3 separate regions of the Homo sapiens genome follow, and all the other regions are linked to region 3. Evidence: promoter capture Hi-C in 16 types of primary human blood cells and fetal thymus (Javierre and others, 2016). All regions are on one chromosome and are shown on one strand. Each heading gives the region's core, a stretch centred on a gene start or on the middle of the fragment in contact. The rest is flanking DNA. Distances are from core to core; before and after follow the strand shown. Region 1 has its middle 42 kb from the start of NFIC. Region 2 overlaps LOC105372244 (a long non-coding RNA gene). Region 3 holds the start of TJP3 (tight junction protein 3).

The links. The method cuts DNA at HindIII sites, captures the fragments that hold promoters and counts their contacts. A CHiCAGO score of 5 or more calls a contact.
Region 1: a contact is called between a fragment that was not itself captured here and the fragment with the promoter of TJP3 in region 3, in 4 of 17 cell types (total B cells, M0 macrophages, naive B cells and 1 more). The highest score is 8.6, in total B cells.
Region 2: a fragment that was not itself captured here is called in contact with the fragment with the promoter of TJP3 in region 3 in 1 of 17 cell types (endothelial precursors); the score reaches 5.4 in endothelial precursors.

The regions. Positions count from the first base shown.
Region 1 is chr19:3,323,050-3,326,115 of GRCh38, reverse strand. No RefSeq gene overlaps it. Among named protein-coding and RNA genes, the nearest start is that of NFIC, 42 kb to the left of the region's middle. The HindIII fragment of the contact is 5,453 bases long and covers 1-3,066 here.
Region 2 is chr19:3,302,056-3,304,993 of GRCh38, reverse strand. It overlaps LOC105372244 (a long non-coding RNA gene), which reads left to right. Exons shown (of 3, transcript NR_187753.1): 2 at 1,959-2,198. Among named protein-coding and RNA genes, the nearest start is that of NFIC, 63 kb to the left of the region's middle. The HindIII fragment of the contact is 2,833 bases long and covers 252-2,938 here.
Region 3 is chr19:3,707,072-3,709,872 of GRCh38, reverse strand. It overlaps TJP3 (tight junction protein 3), which reads right to left and starts at 1,489. Exons shown (of 21, transcript NM_001267560.2): 1 at 1,312-1,489. RefSeq lists enhancers at 719-1,380, 1,381-2,044. The HindIII fragment of the contact is 2,818 bases long and covers 1-1,912 here.

The DNA of each region.
Region 1 (3,066 bases), core at 427-2,926, 380 kb after region 3:
CATTTTCTCATATATTTTAATTAATTTATTTATCTATTTTTTATTATTTATTTTTGAGACAGGGTCTCTCTCTGTTGCCCAACACTGGAGTGTAATAGCGTGATCTCGACTTACTGTAACCTCCGCCTCCCGGGTTTAAGTGATTCTCCTGCGTCAGCCTCCTGAGCAGCTGGGACTACAGTCATGAGCCACTATACCTGGCTAATCTCTGTATTTTTTGTGGAGACAGGGTTTCACCATGTTTCCCAGGCTGGTCTCAAACTCCTGAGCTCAAGGAATCCTCCCAACTCGGCCACCCAAAGTCCTGGGATTACAGGTGTGAGGCACTGTGCCCAGCCATTTTCTCACAGATTTAAAGTCCATTTTTATTACTTTTAGGTATTTTCTGTGGTGATGTGTTCATATCCTTTGCATATTTTTTCAGTTGATCTTTTCTTATTGATTTGTAGGAACTCTTTACATATTTGTTGCCCAGTAAAATTCTTTTGCAAGTACATTGCAAATATTTCTATAATGTTTGCTGTTGTTGAGGATATATATATAATGTGTGTGTGTGTACACATAATTGGATTAGAAACCAAAGTATAACATTAATCTGTACAAATCCATACTGATAGAGATTTTTTTTTTTTAGATGGGAGTCTCACTCTTGTCACCCAGGCTAGAGTGCAGCAGCACGATCTCGGCTCACTACAACTTTCACCTCCCAGGTTCAAGTGATTCTCCTGCTTCAGCCCCCCAAGTAGATGGGATTACACTTGCCTGCCACCACACCCAGCTAATTTTTGTATTTTTAAGCTAATTTTTGTATTTTTAGTAGAGATGGGGTTTCACCATGTTGGTCAGGCTGCTCTCAAACTCCTGACCTCAGGTGATCCACCTGCCTCGGCCTCCCAAACTGCTGGGACTACAGGTGTGAGCTACTGCGCCTGGTCCTTCAGTGCCAATTATGAGCCATGCTCTCTGATGTGGGGTGCTAGAGGCCCTGAGAAGGCTAGGACAGAAGTATCTCCCTCCCTGCAGTTGAGTGAGGAACAGAGACGCCTGCCAAGTCACATACAGCATGACTGCAGTGTGTGTGTGTGTGTGTGTGTGTGTGTGTGTGTGTGTGTGTGTGTGTGTGTCTGTTACATTCACAAGAATGGGGCTGGGTCAGACACTACAGCAGGAGGACCTCCTTTAGTTGGGGGAGGGGTGTTCTGGATGCCATTTGAGTTGAGGCCAGATGGAGGAGGCACAGCCAGTTTGTCTAAGGGGAGGTGGAAGGGCATCTTGAGCAGAAGGCACAGCCTGTGCAAAGGCCCTGGGGCAGGACCACGCCTGGCATGTTGGAGGAACAGCAAGGAGGCCCGTGTGGCTGCAGCAGAGAGAGTTAGTGGGAAGAGAGGGAAGAAGGGAGGGCAGGGAGAGGATGGGGCAGGTCATGTGGACCATGGGGAGGACTTGGGCTTTGACCCTGAGGGAGGTAGGAGCCATGGAGGGTTGTAGGTAGAGGAGGGACAGGACCTGATCCAGGTGCTCACAGGCGCCCTCTGGTGGCTGCTGTGGGGAGGACAGACTGTGAGGGGTGAGAGCAGAGGGAACTGAACTGGTCCGGGCACACAGTGACGGTATTAAGTGAATTTATCTCATTCCTAGGGGCCTCAGTGACTCTCTCCCTAAAATGGGGATGAACATCTTGCTGGCATTGATTGGCTTATTTTGAGAATTTGAGGACCAGATTCAACCCTGTGCCCAGTACATAATAAAGGCTCAGTAAATACCAGTTTACCCACAATTGTTCATTTAATCCTCCCAACAGGGGCCCAGCGAGATGGCTCATGCCTGTAATTCCGCCCTTTGGGAGGCCGAGGCGGGAGGATCACTTGAGGTCAGGAGTTCGAGACCAGCCTGGGCAACATACTGAGACCTCCCATCTCTACTAAAAAATTAGCCAAGCATGGTGGCATACACTTGTAGTCTCAGCTACTTGGGAGGCTGAGGTGGGAGGATCGCTTGAACCCAGGGAATTTGAGGCTGCAGTGAACTGTGATCGTGCCACCGCACTCCAGCCTGGATGACAGAGTCACATCCTGTCTCTAAAAAAGAAAAAAAATTCTCCTAACAGCCTTATTTTACAAATGAGGAAAACAAGCCACAGAGGGGGAAAGTGACTTCCCCAAGGACACACAGCTAATGTGGCAAAGTGAGGTTTTGCTCTCAAGGCCTCCAGGCAAATAGGATTATAGATAAGGATGGTTAGATACTTCTGAGGGGATTTGACCTAGTCCAGGAGGGCTTCCTGGAGGTGGTGACATTGGACCTGAGAACTACAAGATGAGCTGGAGCCATCTAGCCAAACTGAGAGAGAAAGGACGTCCCAGCAGGGGCCACAGGGGTGCAGGGGTCCAAGTGGGTTCATCCCCGGAGCTCAAGGTCATCCCTTTCCCTGCCTAAGCCCTTCCCAGCTTTGCCATCACTGCCAACTTCTGGCTTTGTGGGCTGCACCCCCTCTCCCAGGGACCACCCCCTACTGCTCAGATTGGGTGGCTGGTGAAGACCCCCCACCCCCCCGCCACCTCCAGCTGGTAACAATCCCCAGAAAGGGATCATTAAGTGCCCGGCTGAAGCCGCCGATCACCAGTGCACAGGCACTATTTTAATTTTCCACTGATTTGTCTGCGGTAGGCCCCCCAGAGCTGAGCCATGTGTGTGTGTGTGGTGGGGTGTGGGGCGGGGGGCGGGGATTTCAAGTCCCAAAGCCATTTCTGGGGAAGAGGGGTAGAGGAAAGGACTTGGGTGGGGAGGCCTCACAGAGAGGCAGTTACAGGGGCAACTGGCACAGTTCCTGCTTCCTCCCCAAATCTCCTCTTCCTGGCCCTGATGTGGGGGCTTCCCAGGGCTGTGCCTTTGCCTTCACACTCAGGGCAGCCACTTCTGTCTTCAGGCTCCACCTACCCATTGATCCACCCACACATGCAGCCAACCAACCATCCATCCATCTATCAACCACTCCCTTCAGCCCTTTATCCATCTATCTATCCACCTTCCCATCCATTCACCCATCCACCCATCCATCCCTCTATC
Region 2 (2,938 bases), core at 419-2,918, 410 kb after region 3:
CGGGTTCAAGCGATTCTCCTGCCTCAGCCTCTCGAGTAGCTGAGATTACAGGTGCGCACCACCACACCCGGCTAATTTTTGCATTTTTAGTAGAGTTGGAGGGGGGGGTTGCCATTTTGTCCAGGCTGGTCTCGAACTCCTGATCTCAAGTGATCCGCCCGCTTTGGCCTCCCAAAGTGCTGGGATTACAGGCGTGAGCCACCGCACCCAGCCGGAAAGTGAATTTTTAAGGGCTGATTTATTTTAAAGCTTCTGCAGTGCTTTCTCCGGGCCAGGAAGGACTTTATACATATTAACGCTTTGTGAGCTGGATTGGCCTCGTTTTCCAGAGAGAGAGAGAAAAACTGGTCCCCAGAGGATTCAGCTGCTGGCTCAAGGACACACAGCCATTCAATGTTATAAACCGGTTTCAAACCTGGGACAGTCTGGTTCTAAACTCAACCATTGTGTTTTTAGTGCATTTATTAATGGTAAGCAGGTATCATGTGCTAGGCAACAGGGAACAGAAAAACAAAATTCAGCCAGGTGTAAGGGCTCATGCCTGTAATCCCAGCACTTTGGGAGGCCAAGGCAGGAGGATCGCTTGAGCCCAGGAGTTTGAGACCAGCCTGGGCAACATAACTAGTCCCCGTCTCTACAAAAAATACTGAAAAAAATTAGCCAGGTGTGATGGTATGCATCTGTAGTCCCAGGTACTTGGGAGGCTGAAGCAGGAAGATTGCTTGAGCCCCGGAGTTGGAGACTTCAGTGAGCTATGATTGTGCCACTGCATTCCAGCCTGAGTGACAGAGGGAGACCCTGTCTCAACATAAAAACAGGCTGGGCGTGGCGGCTCAAGCCTGTAATTCCAGCATTTGGGAGGCTGAGGCGGGTGGATCAGCTGAGGTCAGGGGTTCGAGACCAATCTGGCCAACATGGGGAAACTCCATCTCTACTAAAAATACACACACACACACACACACACACACACACACACACATACACACACAAAAATTAGCTGGGCATGGTGACCCATGCCTGTATTTTCAGCTACTCGGGAGGCTTAGGCAGCAGAATTGCTTGAACCCAACAGGTGGAGGTGGCAGTGAACTGATACCGCACCACTGCACTCCAGCCTGGGTGACAGAGTGAGACTCTCTTTCAAAATAAGTAAATAATTAAAAAAAAAAAACCCCATAACATTAAAACAAAGCCAAACACACTTACTGTGCACTCATACCATCCTGTCATGAAACCCGCCAGGTTATGTTGGGTAGACAGACATCAAACAAGCCAGCGCATACATAAGCAGGGGGTTATAACTGTGATCCCTGCAGTGAATGAGAAGGGAGGGGAACCGAGGCAGGAGTTAACGGGTCGCAGTTTCAAATCCTGGCTCCACCACATACCAACTGTGTGGCCTTGGGTTTTCCTCTCCACAAACCTGCCCCTCCGTTTTCTCATCGGCAAAGTGAGAATTATAATAGAAACCTACGTTGTTGGTTGGTTGTGGTGAGGACAAAAAGAGTTGATCACAAGCTGCACATAGCAGGTGCTCAATAGACGTAAGGCTTTACTGTGTGGCTGTAGCATGCTCTGGGGAAAAGGAAGCTACCAGAGTTGTGAAGAGTAAATGTTTGCAGTGGGCACAGTGGCTCACGCCTGTAATCCCAGCACTTTGGGAGGCCCAGCGGGGAGGCTTGCTTGAGCCCAGGAGTTCGAGACCAGCCTGGGCAATAGAGTGAGACCCCGCCACTCCAAAAAGTAAAATAATAAACTGGGCATGGTGACGCACACATTTGTAGACCCAGCTACTCAGAGGGATCTCTTGAGCCCAGGATTTCAAGACTGGACTGAGCTAGGATGGTGCCACTGCACTTCAGCCTGGGCAACAGAGCGAGACCCTGTCTCAAAACAAACAAACAAAAAGTCAGTGCAGTCTCTCTCTCTCTGTCTCTCTCTTTTGGATCACACTCCAGGAAAAACCAGCCACCATGTTGTAAGGATGCTCAAGTAGCACTATGGAGATTCACACGTGGCAAAGAGCTGAGGCCTCCCACCAACAGCCACATGAGGGAGCCAGAGTAGGAGTGGCTCCTCCAGCCCCAGTCGAACCTTCAGATGTGACAGACTTGGCTGCTGACAGTTTGCAATCTCATGAGACCCTGAGCCAGAACCACCCAGCTAAATCAGTCCTGGACTCCTGATCAACAGAAATGGTGTAGGTCAGATAATAATGTATGTTTTAAGCTGACAGACTGGGGGATGGGTAAATTGTTATGCAGCAACACCTAACTAATGCACCCTGCATGTCACTTAGCCTATGCCTCAGATGAGCACTTATAGCATAGCTAGTGTTCCTCTGTCCTAAGCACATCCTTGCTCATTCTTAAGGAGACACTCAGTGGCGGAATTGGTGTATTTTATTTTTATTTTTTAATATTTATTTATTTATTTGAGATGGAGTCTTGCTCTGTTGTCCAGGCTGGAGTGCAATGGCACAATCTTGGCTCAATGCAAACTCCACCTCACAGGTGCAAGAGATTCTCCTGCCTCAGCCTCCCAAGTAGCTGGGATTACAGGTGCCCACCACCATGCCTGGCTTACTTATTTATTTATTTTTTGAGATGGAGTCTTGCTGTGTCACCCAGGCTGAAGTGCAGTGGCATGATCTCAGCTCACTGCAAGCTCCGCCTCCCAGGTTCACGCCATTCTCCTGCCTCAGCCTCCCGAGTAGCTGGGACTACAGTCACCTGCCACCACGCCCGGCCAATTTTTGTATTTTTGGTAGAGACAGGGTTTCACCGTGTTAGCCAGGATGGTCGCGATCTCCTGACCTCATGATCCACCCGTGTCAGCCTCCCAAAGTGCTGGGATTACAGGTGTGAGCCACCGTGCCCAGCTAATTTTTATATTTTTAATAGAGATGGGGTTTCACCATGTTTGGCCAGACTGGTCT
Region 3 (2,801 bases), core at 240-2,739:
CGGCCCTCAATATCCCCATTTTACAGAGCAGGAAACAGAGGCCCGGAGAGAAGGGAGGTGTGGAAGCCAGATCTAACTGAGTCCACGGGTTTGCTCTCAAAACCCAGGCAAGGTGGGATCCATGTCGCCCACCCCCACGGACTCCCGAATCTCAAGCAAGCCTGCTCCCTGGGAGCTCTGCAGCCACACAGCCACAAGGTGACCCCAAATGCCGGGCCGCTCTGTCCCCCACTATGCGATCATCCATGCCTCCTCGGCCCCGGGGGACCCTCTTGGTTCTGGAGAGAGACTTGAGATGCAATCGGACACTTGGCTCACGAGGAAGCTCCCTTGGTCTTCCCATTTGGGAGCAAATGACCCAGAAAAACACTTTTGCTGCCGACCCCTCCCCTCTCTGGCTCTGAGCGCTCCTTCCTCCTTCCCCTCTGCCCCATCCCACAGAGATTTTGCTCGGAGGAGTAAAGATTAGAAAAAGAAGTCTGGGCGCAGTGGCTTGCGCCTGTAATCCCAGCACTTTGGGAGGCCGAGGGGGTTGGATCACCTGAGGTCAGGAGTTCGAGACCAGCCTGGCCAACATGGTGAAACCCCATCTCTACTAAAAATACAAAAATTAGCTGGGCATAGTGGTGGGCGCTTGTAATCCCAGCTACTCGGGAGGCAGAGGTGGAGGCAGAGGTTGCAGTGAGCCAAGATCGCACCACTGCACTCCAGCCTGGGCAACAAGAGCAAAACTCCGTCTCAAAAAAAAAATTAGCAAAAGAAAGGCCACCCCAATCCCTCCCTGCAAAGCTCCTGGAGGTTCCAGCGGTGAGAACAGGGTGAGGGGTTGGGGGGCGGGAGACGCAGTTGTTTCAAAACTTGGGAGCCTTTTAAGAAGTTCCAGGAGGCTCAGAGATGAGTGAGGTCGCAGCCTTTCCCACCTGTCACCTCCTAGCCTCGGGCTGCAGGAGGTAAACCCAGGCTCCGTCTGGACTGATATCCCCTCCCCTCCTCAGTTAGGGGGATCAGAGACCAACCTGTGCCCCTTTGCCGCCTCCCCGGTCCCTGCGCCACCTAGGTAACAATGACCCTTTTAAGTTTCCAGCTCAGCGTCCTGGGCAGGCCGCCAGGTGCAGTAACTGCCGGTCAGATAATCCCTACGAAACTATGTCAGATGCCCACGCAGGAGTGTCAGTTTCCTGCTTTCCGAGGAGCCGGGGAGACAGCTCGTGGTGGGGGAGGTTGGGGGGGAGTCTAAGGACCCTCAGCTGGGGAAGGCCAGCTCAGACAATGCACACTGGGTGGAAAAGCACAGTGGGGCGGGGGACTTACCTGTCTAGGAGGCTGGGTGGCCTCTGGGCAGGCAGCAGGTGCCAGGGCCCGGGTGCCTGCCTGGCACGGGTGGTGGGGAGGGAACCCGAGGCTTGTAGCTCTGGCCTCCCCACCTGTTTGACCAACTTTTCCTCTCTTGTGGTGGCAACAGGGAGGCAGGTCCCCTGCCAGTGGAACTGACGACCACAGACACAGGGAGACGGACCAGGGTGAGGGGCGGGCCAGCAGGAGGACTGGGTGTGTGGCTCTGTCGCAAGGTGCCCTCACGTGGGAGCAACTGGCCTTAACCCCTGCTTGCCCAGAGGTGAGCTTGCTCCTGCCTGTGCCCTCACCGCCGAGGCCCTGGTATCAAGCGTCCGCACATGGTAGGTGCTTAGGAAACCCTCGTTGGCTACATTCAGACATGAATGGACCGCACTCCCGGAGTCCCCCTCCCTCCTGCTTCTTGCATCTGGAGCTGCCCAGTCTCTGTGCTTGCTGAGCCTCCTGCCAGGCACGCCGGCCCATCAGGCTGTGGCTTGGCGCACTCCCTTCCCCACGCAGATCTGTGCGCAGTCTGCCTCTCTGCTACGAAGTGACTGGGTTCCTACGTACAGAAGCTTCTGCCACTTCCCCGCTGTGTGGCTTTGGGCAAATTACAGGGGCTTCTTGCTGTCCTCATCTAAAAAACAAGAAAGGGTCAGGTGTGGTGGCTCACACCTGTAATTCCAGCACTTTGGGAGGCCGAGGTGGGAGGATCACTTGAGCCTGGGAATTTGAGACCAGCCTGGGTAACACGGTGAAACCCATCTCTAGAAAAATTTTTATATATCTTTTGTTTGTTGTTTGTTTTGAGATGGAGTCTCCCTCTGTCACCCAGGCTGGAGTGCAGTGGCGCGATCTCGGCTCACTGCAACCTCCGCCTCCTGGGTTCAAGTGATTCTTCTGCCTCAGCCTCCCAAGTAGCTGGGATTACAGGCGTGCACCACCACGCCCAGCTAATTTTTTTTTTTTTTTTCAGTAGAGACGGGGTTTTCCTATGTTGGCCAGGCTGGTCTCAAACTCCTGACCTCAAGTGATCTGCCCGCCTCGGCCTCCCAAAGTGTTGGGATTACAGGCGTGAGCCACCGAGCCTGGCCTAGAAAAGTTTTTTTGTTGTTGCTGCTGGCTGTTGTTGGTTTTGTTTTGTTTTTTGTTTTTATTTTATTTTTTTTTTATTTTTTTGAGACAGAGTCTTGCTATGTTGCCCAGGCTGGAGTGCAATGGCTTGATCTCGGCCCACTGCAACCTTTGCCTCCCGGTTTCAAGTGATTCTCCTGCCTCAGCCTCCCGAGTAGCTGGGATTGCATTACAGGCACCAGCCATCATGCCCAGCTAATTTTTGTATTTTTGTAGAGACGGAGTTTCACCATATTGGCCAAGCTGGTCTTGAACTCCTGGCCTCAGGTGATCCGCCTGCCTTGGCCTCTCAAAGTGCTGAGATTACAGGCGTGAGCCACCACGCCCAGCCC